Linked DNA regions of Homo sapiens: region 1 is linked to region 2. The links are contacts of gene promoters, found by promoter capture Hi-C in human tissues and cell types (Jung and others, 2019). All regions are on one chromosome and are shown on one strand. The core of a region is centred on a gene start or on the middle of the fragment in contact, and the rest is flanking DNA. Distances in the headings are between cores, read along the strand shown.

Evidence for each region. Contacts are between HindIII fragments. The study calls those that stand out against the background at their distance.
Region 1: a fragment that was not itself captured here is called in contact with the fragment with the promoter of SNAP25 in region 2 in 2 of the 25 tissues and cell types used here (mesendoderm cells and stomach).

Annotation. Positions count from the first base shown.
Region 1 is chr20:10,345,587-10,352,096 of GRCh38, reverse strand. It overlaps the pseudogene RPL23AP6. Among named protein-coding and RNA genes, the nearest start is that of MKKS, 85 kb to the left of the region's middle. RefSeq lists an enhancer at 1,002-1,231. The HindIII fragment of the contact is 3,141 bases long and covers 2,587-5,727 here.
Region 2 is chr20:10,213,900-10,220,247 of GRCh38, reverse strand. It overlaps SNAP25 (synaptosome associated protein 25), which reads right to left and starts at 1,418. Exons shown (of 8, transcript NM_130811.4): 1 at 1,271-1,418. It overlaps SNAP25-AS1 (SNAP25 antisense RNA 1), which reads left to right and starts at 742. Exons shown (of 5, transcript NR_040710.1): 1 at 742-1,011. It overlaps LOC124904959 (a long non-coding RNA gene), which reads right to left. Exons shown (of 2, transcript XR_007067723.1): 2 at 4,929-5,122. The HindIII fragment of the contact is 5,357 bases long and covers 1-3,635 here.

The DNA of each region.
Region 1 (6,510 bases), core at 2,908-5,407, 130 kb before region 2:
TCCTATCTTAGCCCCCAAAGTAGCAGGGATTACAGGCACGCACCACCACACCCAGCTAATTTTTTGTATTTTTAGTAGAGACGGGATTTCACCATGTTGACCAGGCTGGTCTCAAACTCCTGACCTCAGGTGATCTGCCCGCCTAGGCCTCCCAAAGTACTGGGATTACAGGCATGAGCCACTGTGCCTGGCCTGAAAATTCTTTTTTTTAAATTAAGATTTACTTTTTTAATTCAAAAGTTAACACAGCAGAGGTGTTTGTTCCAGGGGTGGTTGTGATGATTGTGGTCTATGACACAGCTTCCACACCTCGAGAATAACAATCGTCAGTGTTCAGTGAGCACTCCCTATGTGTTGTACTGTGAATAATCAAAACATGTATTTAGGCTACTTGGGAGGCTGAGGTAGGAGAATCACTTGAACCCGGGAGGCGGAGGTTGCAGTGAGCCAATATCACGCCATTGCACTCCAGCCTGGGTGACAAGTTTTGAAACTCCGTCTCAAAAAAAAAAAAAAAGTATTTGGTCTTTGCCCCTGTTTCCTGCCACAGAGTTTCAGAAACTCTTGGAATTTCCTTAATGACAGGAGTGTCTTTTGTTATTCATAATGAGCCACTTTTGCTATATCCAAGTATATGCTAATAAGGTAACTTTTGGCAGAGCCCCTAGAGAGCTTCAGGATGGGGGGTGGCAGCTAGGAAAATCAACCATGTGGTGAGAGGGTTGGAACCTTCAGCCCCAGTCCCTGCCTGCTGAGGAGGGGAGGCCAGAAACTGAGGCTAATGTGGCTAATGACTGATTCAATCATGCCTACATAATAAAACTTCAATAAAAGCTCTGAATGATGAGGTGTGAACTGCTTCCCAGTTGGTGCACACATTGATGTACCAGGAGGGTGGCAGACCCTGGCTCCATGGGGACAGAAGCTCCTGTGCTCAAGACCCTTCCAGATCTTGCCATCATATGTTTTTTCATCTGACTATTCATTTGTATCCTTTATGGGAAAAGAGTAATTGTAAGTACAGTGTTTTCCTGAGTCCTGTGAGTCATTCTTTCACAGGGTGAACCTCAAGGGGGTGCAGCCTGGGAGGTCACATGGGTTCTTGCCTTCATGCAGGAAGGAAATCAAAAGTGAGATGACAGAGTAAAGTGAAAGCAAGTTTACTAAGAAAGTAAGGGAGTAGGCCAGGCGAAGTGGCTCACGCCTGTAATCCCAGCACTTTGGGAGGCTGAGGCTGTTGGATCACGAGGTCAGGAGTTCGAGACCAGCCTGATCAACATGGTGAAACCCCATCTCTACTAAAAACGCAAAAATTAGCTGGCACACACCAGTCGTCCCAGCTACTCGGGAGGCTGAGGCAAGAGAATTGCTTGAACTGGGGAGGCGGAGGTTGCAGTGACTGTACTCCAGCCTGGGAAACAGAGTGAGACTCCATCTCAAAAAAAAAAAAAAATCAGAAAGTCTTACGGGGGCAAAAACCAGTTACTGCATTGTGAGGGCTCAATTGGCAATGTATTCCTGTTTAGTTTCTCCCTCTTGATTCCCTGATCCCCTGTTCCCCTCCAAACCGCCCCCATCTGACACTCCTGCTTCCTGGAATTATTTCCCAAATAAACTACCTATATGTTCTCAGGCTCTGCTTTCCAAAGAAACCAGGCCATGATAAGATATGGCTAACCTCAGCCGGAGGGATATTGATGTTACCTTAATGACAAAATGGTACAGGGATGAATGGGTTCTTGCTAAGTTTACTGCTCCTGTACTTTGACTTGTGGTGAAAGAAAATATGTTGAAACTAATTAAAATGGTTTCACATCATGAAATTTTTTGAAAGAAATGACCTCGAGCTAATAACATCTGAAAAATGAATAATAGGACAATTGAAAAAGTAACAATGAAGAGTGTTCTTTAGAATTTATGGAAAAATTAATACGAAGGGATTCAGAGTAGATAAGATATCCTTTTATGTGAATTTAAAATATATTTTATTACAGAAGGATTAGGATAAAAACCTTTGATAAGTTGTCATCTGGCTAAGGAAGGACAGTGGCCACATCATGCTGATATTTGCATCCTCACCATTTGGTGCCTGGAACATAATAGATATTTTAAAAATGTGTGTTGAATGAATAGAATCTTAATATTGGTAGTTAGACATTGTAATGGGTTGCATCGTGGCCATGAAAAACATGTCCAAGTTCCAACTTCAGATACGTGTGAGTGTGAATGTGATCTTATTTGGAAAAAGAGTCTTTGTTGGTGTAAATTAAGTGAAGAATCTCAAGATTAAACCATCCTGGATTAACTAGGTGGGCCCCAAATCCAATGACAAATGTGCTTATAAAAAGAAGAGCAGAAGCAGACATAGGGGAGGACCATGTGAAGATGGAGGCAGAGATTGGAGTTGTGCAGCTACAAGCCAAGGGATGCCTGGAGACATCAGAAACTAGAAGAGAGCTTTTCACAAGATGGTGCCAAAGATGAAGAAGGAAGCTTCCGTCCCTCCTAAAGCCAAGGCCAAAGCAAAGGCTTTGAAGGCCAAGAAGGCAGTGCTGAAAGGTGTCCACAGCCACATACACACACACATAAAGAAAATCTGCACGACCCCCGCCCACCAAGACACTGTGACTTCAGAGGCAGCCCAAATATCCTCGAAAGAGCACCCCCAGGAGAAACAAGCTTGGCCACTATGTCATCATCAAGTTTCTGCTGACCACTGAGTCTCCCATGAAGAAGACAGAAGACAACAGCACACCTGTGTTCATTGTGGATGTTAAAGCCAACAAGCACCAGATCAAACAGGCTGTGAAAAAGCTCTGTGACATTGATGTGGCCAAGGTCAACACCCTGGTTAGGACTGATAGAGAGAAGAAGGCACATATTCTTCTGGGTCCTGATTATGATGCTTTGGATGTTGCCAACAAAATTGGGATCATCTAAACTGAGTCTGGCTGGCTAATTCTAAATATATGTATCTTTTCACCAGAAAAAAGAAACTAGAAGAGACAAGGAAAAATACCCCCCTACAGCCTTGGAGGGAGTGTGGCCTTGCTAACAGCTTGATTTCAGACTTACAAACTCTAGAACCGTGAGAGAATAAACTTCTGTTGTTTAAAGCCACCAAGTTTTTGGTAATTTGTTATGGCAGCCCTAGGAAACTAATACAGAGGTATGAAAAAAAAATGGTGAAAGCTAATGGAACATAAACAATGATTTCAACCATAAAAACACTCAACAAATATTGATCAAGCCTTCACCAAATGCCAGGGACTTCTCGAGGGAAACAGCAGTGAGCAAAATATATGGAGGCCTGTGTACTCACAGTGCTTACATTCTAGCAATATTCTGGTCAGAGAAGCCAGCTTATTCAAAACCTTTACTCTTAACCGAGGCGTGTGTATGTCTGTACCTACATCAGGACCAACTTTACACAACTAGTGGTAAAGAATTTAGAAAATAAAGATTACATAACAACAAAGGAAGCACTTACCACAGAGGACTCAAGCTCCAAATTTCCAGATGGGATATATTATTTTTTAACAAGGATAACAGAAGAAAGACATTCAGAGTTTTTTGACCTTCAGATTTCCATGCAGCTCATGAGATAGATTGGAATTGTCTCCTTGGTTGCAACAGAAGGTTTATCTTCTATAAGCGAACGCAAGGGCTTTGGCTAAAATGTAACTGTATTCCAGTTTGGGGAAAAATAACTCAAGGAAATTTTTCTTAAACTTGTTTTTCTACAATACTTTTAAAAAATATTATGCATCTTAAACTTTTGACAGGTGCCATTGATTATCTGCCAGAGAGGACTAGCCGGTAGCTAGAAGAATGATCATACAACAAACCAATATTAAGGGATAGGTTTGATTCAAAAACCTATGAATCAAATGTGTGTGTGTGTGTGTGTGTTTGGATTTTTACACTTGCGATCATGACACTATTGCCTTTCATGCTGTGTAAATTTAATTAAATGTAATGACCCTAATCAATATAAACTTAAAATAACCAAATATAATTTTGTGTTAAAGTATTATCTGTGTGATTGGAATACAACATAACAATACTATATTCTGCAAGAAGCACTTTGGCTTCCAGTGGCTCTAATACTAGAACAATTCTGAGGCCTGCTTTGTTAGCATCAATCAGCAAGCAGAGCAAAGCTCAGAAATGCTGGACAGAGAAAGCATAAGATCAAATCTGAGAGAACACTTAAAGATGAATCTGAAAACTTCTTTACCTTTTAATATTAATATGTCAGGGTTAAATCATGAATGTATTTCATGTATGCAGGTTCAACTTGGCAAAAATAAATAAATAAACAACTTTTTAAATTTTAAATTGCAACTGCTAATCCACTAATTGAGAGTGAGTCCTGTGGTCAAGGTGAGATAGGAAACTTTGTACCCTCAGCCTCCTCAGTCTCTGAATGCCTCTTGTGTGTGTGTGTGTGTGTGTGTGTGTGTGTATGTGTGTGTCTGTGTGTCTGTGTAGCTAAGTTAAATATAATTCTTGTATTTAAAATTATGTAATTTTTCATAGAACATGTCCTCTGATTCTAAGCCCACTATTCTCCCCAGCTTTTAACCAGACCTTTCACTGTGTTCAACATCTTGAAAGGGATATAGACTGTGTTTTAGGGGTAATTTGAGGGGTTTTTCAAAAGTAAATTGGCTCTGGAATTTCTGTCTCATATAGAATCTAAATGAGAACTAGAGAGAGAGAGAGAGAGAGAGAGACTCTGTTGAACATTATATGACACAGCCAAGAATATGAAAAATGATGACAGTCGCCCCAGCAAACAGCTTGACTGCAATCTCGTGAGACACCCTGAGCCAAAACTATGCAGCTAAGCTGCTTCTGAGAAACTCTGAGAAAATAAATGTGTGTTGTTTTAAGCTGATGAATTTCAGAGTAATTTGTTATGCGGCAATAGATCACTAATACTGTGTCATAGATTTGAAGAAGAAAATGTAGAGTCTTTGCCTTTCTATATTTTGAAATCAAGATGAAAGAAATATGTGCAAAAAAAAAAAAAACCCTATAAAACAATGTGAGAAATGCCATAATAGGAGCAAGTCATTAATAAGCCAAATAGTATTTAGGAGGAAAAAAATGGTTACTCCATTTCTGATCACTAGAGGACTACATTATACTCCACTAAACAAAGAATAATCTGCTTTCAGCAAAAAGTTTCCTAGTTTTGGGAAGTCCAAAAGGACTATTGCCAAGGGAAATCCAGGTTATAGTAGTAAGAAATGGCGGAGGGGAGGAAGAGCTGAGAAGCACACAGGAGGGCCACTGACACTTATTGATTACTTATGGCTCATGTACTTTATCCACATTTTCTTATTTGATCTTCACACCAATTGTATGAGTTAGATCTAATTTTCTTTATCTTATAGATGGACACTATCTATACCAAGGAATGAAACCTTTTGTTTTTGGAATATTCTATAGCATTTGGCAAATTTGGTCACTAAGACTATGCTGAAAGTCAGACTCTCTGGCCTGTAATAGATGGTGACCTGAATTTTATTACTAGTCAACTGCCATCAGAGAGGTATGACAGTTTCGTAGGGGTTGGGCAGCTATTTCAAGAAGGGTCAGGAATTAAACAATGAGCAAAAGTAACGTAATCAATAGGTTTTTCTTTCTGCCCAGTTCTCTAACTTTATAGGTGAACAATACTTTCCAATCTTATTTAACTCTCCTGAAGTACTCCAAGTGGATATGTTCACTATAATCTTTACCTTGACAGTTATGATTATGTCCACATTTTTAAATCACTTGAATAATTAAGAATAAGCACAAGACATTTACCTTCCAAGAAAAAATTATCAACGGCTTAAATTTCTTTGAGAATATGCACTACAGCATCACTCTTATTGCTAATGATTTATAATTCTGTAAAATTAGACTTGTAAAACAGAAATGAAAGGAAAATGGTTATTACCAGGTGAGGAACGGTTAGAAGTTGGCCTAGATAATTGTATTGCTAAAAAGCCATTTGCTTCTTGTTTTAGTCTGTTTCATGCTGCTTTAACAGATTACTGCAGATTGGGTAATTTATAATAAACATACATTTATTGGCTCACACTTCCAGAGGCTGAGAAGCCCAACATGAAGATTCCAGCATCTGGTGAGGACCTTCTTTCAGTGTTAAAACATGGCAAAAGTCATCATATGGTAGAAGGGCAAAGAGATCAAGAGGGCCGAACTTGCCCTTTTATGTCAACAGTAATCCCACCTATGAAAGCAGATCCTCATGGCCTAAGCGCCTTTTAAAGGTCCCACCCTTAATACCATTACAATTAAATTTCAACCTTACTTTTGCAGGGGACAAACATTCAAATCACAGCACTTCTATACCTTGAGAAGTGCTGAAAGGTTACTCCTCAAATGATTTCTTAATTGTTTTGTTAAAATACCTATAATACCTGTGACCAGAGTCACTGCTTTTGTAGTTTTGTGAGGTTTGATCCTTTAATGGGCATGAGAAACGCTACA
Region 2 (6,348 bases), core at 169-2,668:
GCAAGGATGGGGGAAGAAGGAAAAGGAAGAGTGATTCATTCTTAAAGTTGATTCTGCTTAGTTCAGCTAATCTCACATTTTTATCAAATGGAAACATAGAGAGAGATGTATCATCCCTATAAACAGATAGCATTGGCTTCTTCATATATACAGTACTTATGCTCACCCAAGATCTGTAGACAGATCTACTCTGTGTTAAAAAACAAAACCAAACAAAAACCTTGATACCCTGCTGGAGGATAAATCCATATTTTTTAAAAAATGTATTTATTTTCTACGTAAAATAAGGGTCAGAGGGCAACACAGAAGATTTCCACAAGTAGACTATTTTGTTGAAGCTATGCAGGAGGTGAGGAGGGGAACAGGAAATTGTCTGCAAAGGAGTCTCTGTGAGGAAGATTTATTTCTTTCTTGTTTTCTTTTAAGCTACTATGACTCCTCTATTAAGGGTCTCCGTAAGACCGGGGTCTCAGGGAGACAATTTGGTCTCCAGCCCTGGCACATCCAGCCCCGGCCAGGCATTTCTGCCGCAGGCAGATGAGGCGCTGCGGCCGGACCGCTGTCCCCGGTGCTGAAAGGTCGAGGGCGCCCGCGCGAGCCCTCGGTGTTGCTATCCAGGGTGCTGAGCGCGGGCCGCCGCAGTCCCCGAAGCCAGCCCACCCGCGCCAGCCCTCCGCAGAGCCCTCCCACCCGGCACGACCCGCCCGCCTCCCGCCAGCCTGCAGTTGACGTGGAGCAGGCGGCATAAATCAAGTCCGCGGGGCATGGAGGCTGCTGTCGCTGCAGCAGCTCAGCTTGCCCGGGGCGGGAACTCCCCCTTTCTCCTTTCGCCTCCCCAGCACCCACACCCTGTCTCCCCCTTAATTCTTCCCTGGATAATAGCACCCTAACGACAACAGTCATAATAATAGGGTTAGAACGACAGGGGAGGAAAACTCAACAGCCTAAATATCTCTGAAAACTGCATCGCAAAATGGAAGAAAGAGGGGGTCCCACTACTGTTTCAAAAGAGTAAGTTATTATTCGGTACGTACCCTCGCTCTTCCTCCCCGTCGCTCCATTTGCAGGGCTCCCGTTTCCCTTTTCCCCAGCAGCTCACCTCGAAAACACTTTATAAAGCCCCCACCAGACGTGCACACACGGAATACCGCACCCTAAGTGCACCAATACTTGTATTTACCCAAGCCCACTCGGACTGCCCAGCTGCTGTCCCTTCTGGGTATGCAGCCATCCCGAGCCAGAGCCACGACCTGGGGAGGGGGGTTCTTACCTGGGCTTCTCGGGAGGGTTGTGTTCTCCGGGCCTCTGCAGGTTGCAACTGTGGTGGAGCCGCCGAGCAGGGAGGGAAGGAAAGACAGCGCCTGACCTCCCCGAGGTTTCGTCTTCAATGCAACGTGAGCTCTGCCCTCATCAAAGATGGCCGTCCGTTTTGACGTCAGCAGCTTTTAATAGCCGCCCAGCGAGGGGCGGGAGGAAGTGGGGGCGGGGCACGGCGGGGGCGGGGGCGGGGCCCGGGCTGCGGCGCGCTTGACTCGGTTCCCAGTGCGCTGGCCTGCAAACCTGCGTGTTTTCACCTTCTATAAACACCCGCACGGGGCGACTCTTATGACTCCATTTTAACACTCGGTCTTGGGCAAACGCGTTCATCCCGCAACTGCATTCCTGATGTTCTTTGGTGTGTGTGCGTGTGTGTGTACATATGTGTATATGTGTGTGTATGTATATATGTATGTGTGTGTATATTTTATAATACATGTATAATATATGTATAATTTGTGTGTATGTGTATATATTCCCCCCCACCCCCACCCCCACCCCCTTTCAGTGGAATCTGTGGTTGAGTCATCTAAGGAGAGGGGAAGGCAGAGGAGGGGTAAAAGGTAGTGATGGGAGGGGTGGGGGAAATTTCAGCGGCGATTTGTTTTCTCCGAAGAGGGTCCGTAGGGGCATCCCCGTCCACCCTCGCCAGCTCCATATATGGCCAGGCTACGTGGGTTGCTATTTTTATGAGTGATTGCTTCATGTTATCGAAGCAGCGTCGAGGGCTTGTGGCTCTCGTTGCTGTGGTCAGCCGGGCAGCGAGGCTGGCGCACGTTATTTTGAACTACGTCAGAGCCAGGCTCTCTGAGCTGTTGCAGGAGTCGGGGGAAGGAGAAGGGAAGCGGAGTTAGCCCAGCCAGCGTGGGTTTGCAAGGACTCGAGGCTTGAAGTTGAGTTGTTTGCCGAGGGCAAAAACGGATGACTCTGCTTTCGGTGGAATTTGCAGTCGGTGCTGGGGTTTCATGCTGGGTGTCTTAGGGGTACCCCACGGAGGCACAGACGCCCCGAGGGAACCGTCCAAACGGCCGGGAGGAGGTGGGGGATTCAGAGCAAGGACGGCTGGGACACGGCCGAATCTGGGGGTTCACTCAGTGCGCAAACCCCGGGGTACCCGTGCAGGCTGCCTCGGGGGGCCCTCGGATGCTCAAATCAGGGCGGGGAGACAAAGGCTACTTGTGCTGGTCGTATTAGAGATTAAAAGTGATAATTATAAAGCAACAACCCTAACTGTCCTCCCTGGCCGTGCCCGGGCCCGGGAAGGGGGTGGTGCGCGGATCGCTCGGCGGTGGCAGCCTCCCGGATGATTCACAGGTGTTGGGGAGGCTGTCGCGGGGCTCTCCGCAGGGAGGGAGGGCTGGGGAGCGCGTGGGAGGTGGGGGACCTCGTCTGAGGAACTGTTTGTACTTTTCCGGGAAGGATGCGATTAGAAGTCGTGCCTCGCAATGTTAAAACTTGATGGCCTCTTTTAGGCTATGGAAAATCCTTGTCTCGCTTAGGAGAAACCATTTAGAGCTGGGTTCGGAAAAGCGGCGTACAACCTCTCCCCTTGCACCCTCGCCCCCCACCCCCGCCCCACCACACACACACACACACACACACACACACACACACACACATCCCTAGCTGGCCTGAGAGCCAAGCTTAGGCAATAATACGGCCTTTGATTGCGCTCCATTGCGGAGGGAGGGAAGCGGGGTAGGGGGAAGGGAAGAAGAGTTGTGAAGGCGCTGCGTTTAGAAAGAGACGGGTTGTTAAGAATTTAATAAAGGATACCTTTAATCGAAATTAGTAGACATAATTGTTTCTTAAAGATTCCCTGGCCTGAAGGCTTTTTTTTGACGTATTGATGTTTTTGCCATAATAATTAACAGTGTTTGGATGTTAATTAAAGCCAAATTCCTAAAAAAGGCATGTTGCTGAAATTTGTTTACTTAAATATTCATTAAACATTTAAGATTGCCATACAATAAAGAAGAAAATCTGCAAAGTCCTTAGATACTTAATTGCCAATAAAAGTCTCTTGAGTATGGCTCTTACTTTCATTATAAAGCAAGTTGGAATAGGGGGAAAGGGGTTTGAATGCAATGTACTGCAAAATCCTTTGTAGTCAGAATTTTTTCCAAAGTGTGACACTTTAAAAAAAGGCAGCATGCGGAAGTTTGAAGAGAAAAAAAAACCTGCAGAGGGAGAAAAAAAAATGTGTGTATGGCCCTCAGACTAGAAATCATTCAGGCAGAAAGTTTTGTGAAGGAATGGAGGAGGTGGGGGATTTTCCAAGTTAAAAAAAAAAAAGAAGTTAAAAAGCAACTACGTCAGTGATGGAGGCTTATCCTGCAGGCAAAAGCTATGTAGCAGTCACAGGGAAGGACTGGCTTGGTATTCTGAGTTTTCAACTGCTGATGCCCCACACTGACATCTATAAAAATGACAGACAAGAAGAGAGAGGCAGACTGTTTCAAGGCATTACAGAAAATACCATGGACCCTACAAGATTAGCTGGTGGTGGTGACAATGTTTTCCATTGCTAGTGCTTGTTGTGAAAATGATGCTGTTTGAGAGGTTCTTAGAGGTTCTTCATCTTGCTCTGGGAAAGGTAACAGAGTGTAATTTGAGATACATAAACATTGGGTACATAAAAATCTGCTAGGGATGACCAGATAACCCTAAATGTATTTTGAATAGGATAATGAGATTTTTTTCCCTTAGGATTTTCTCACGGCATGATTAAAGCAAAACAAAAACAAACAAGAAAACGTCATCATCTTTGCCAGTAGAGAACCAGCAGATTCATGATACTCAGGGTTTGCAAAGGCCTGAACCACACAGGGAAGGAAGGTGATGGAAAATTTGTTCCAAAATGGTTCAGCTGCTATGGGTTATTTCTGCAAAGAACTAACACACAGAGTATCTAATGCTTAGGATGAGTAACGAGAAAATTACCTGCTCTGCTAGATGGATATTTACACTGTGATAATTCAAGCCTCTGAAAGCTTTTTTGGTACATTATGCCCCAAAGTATTCTGGTTTGCAGTAGCTCTAGGTCCAAGGTATTTAGCTTGTATCTCCAAGGTAAGGTGCAAGATTCATAGTTGACTCAATAACTACAATTTTATAAGTCATAATAATAATAACTTTTCTAAAATCCCATGTGATCTTTCCAAAGTCAACTTGGAAGCAGTTTAGAGATAGCCCAGCTCAGAAGCCCTCTCTCCAGGGTCCTCCTTTGGGACATGCCTGGCACCCTATGACAATGTTTCAAAACACTGTGAGGGCAAAGAATATTCAGTTCTGCGCAAGAATATTCAGTTTGATAGAGCAACTGTTTTGATTCCTTGGTTTGCTTTCCAAGTGGTTTGCTTGCCACTTTCTCTTCATATATTCTTCTAGCCCTTAATCCAGCCCCCCACCCCATTTATATATAGTGAAGTAGCGGTACCTTAAAATGCCTCGAGTAGTTTAACTCTAGGTTTAAACTATCCAGGCTGTTCTTGTTCCCTGAAGCCTCTAAGGTAGATATAGATCTTGTGAAAGGTAAAAAGAGAACCAGGAATATTAGTTGCTGTTTCTGGTTTGCCAGGTTAAGAAAAAATAGGACTGTACACTCAGAATATTAAATAACACTTTATTCTTTATTACAGACAGTATGGTGAGAAGGAAGAAGGGGAGTGTCCAGCAGCCACAGGCTGGATGTTTCCACACTTTTGTTCCTTGATGCACCAAAATTACAGACTTTCTTTTACAATGCATCCTAGGACCCTTCCCAATGCTGAGACACGCCTGTGGTCCAGTAGGGAGGAAGAACCTGTGACAATTAGGAACAGAGAGGCAGAGAAAATGGTAGTCCAAATTAGTACACTTCAAAAAGGCTATTTGTTAGGGATCACAGTATTCCTTGAGTAAATCTTTTAGGAATCATATTAGTTCTGTAACCTCTTTGTATCTCAATTATCTCATAGGTAAAATGGAGACAATAATTATAGCAAATACACAAGGAAATTATGAAGCACTGAGTGTCATGTCTAGCACTATGAAGTATTGGCTAAATAAAATCTATCATTTTGATGAGACTTTAACTTTATTTCTCTAAGAAATGACATGTAGCTTGGCTTTAATATGGAGGATTGCCATTTTTTTCATTAGCTATTAATTAGATATGTATCAATCATACTGGGCCTTGTTTTTTTCATCTATATGAACTTATTCATTTACTCAATATCGAACACCTGCCATATGCTTAGCACTGGGGTCTAGGAAAAATTGAGTAGAGAGTTGAGGGTTAGAGCGGTTAAATAACCAGGCCAAGGACACAGCTAAGAAATGGGATAGCTGGGGTTTGAACCCCAGGGCCCAAGCTCATAATCACTATGTTTTAGTACAGCCTCCTCCAGCTCCATCAGACTCCTTTCTGCCCTCTGCAGCTACCTTCTCTGCCTCAACACACTGTGGCTTGCATATGCCTTTTCTCATTAGCAACTTCAGGGTTTCGTTTGCTAGAGGGATGAGTATGAATTACTGGTTTGGTTGGCTGAATCACAAGGTTTCGCTGTGGCGAATTTCAAGAAAGAAGTCTAGGCTGTTAACCTGAGGTGAACAGAAACAACATATTCAAAGGAAGAGAGTTCAAATTACAATCAAGGAGGGAATTCAGAGATCAATATCCAATAAACAGCTTAAATAAGAATCAGGGCAGAAAATGCTCTCAAAATATACCTAAGCAAGTCAGCCAGAGGTCAGAACAGAATGGCAATGTGGATCAGTGGTTTTGAGGCAGATGATATGAGGTCTTCAACACGAATTGATTCCAAGGGTGAAGAACTCTGAGGGTGAGGATGGGGTTAAGCTGGGTTGAAATGAATGACTCAGGATATACCTGGGAATGGGGCAAGAATATCTCGTGCGATTTTATTGATACTAGCGGAGAAGGGCATCACACTTCTGCCAGCTCACAGGCACCAGCCTAGGCAAGGCACATTCTAAGACATCAGCAGATTGCATCAATAATCTCTTGGTCATGGTCCAAAGGACTTT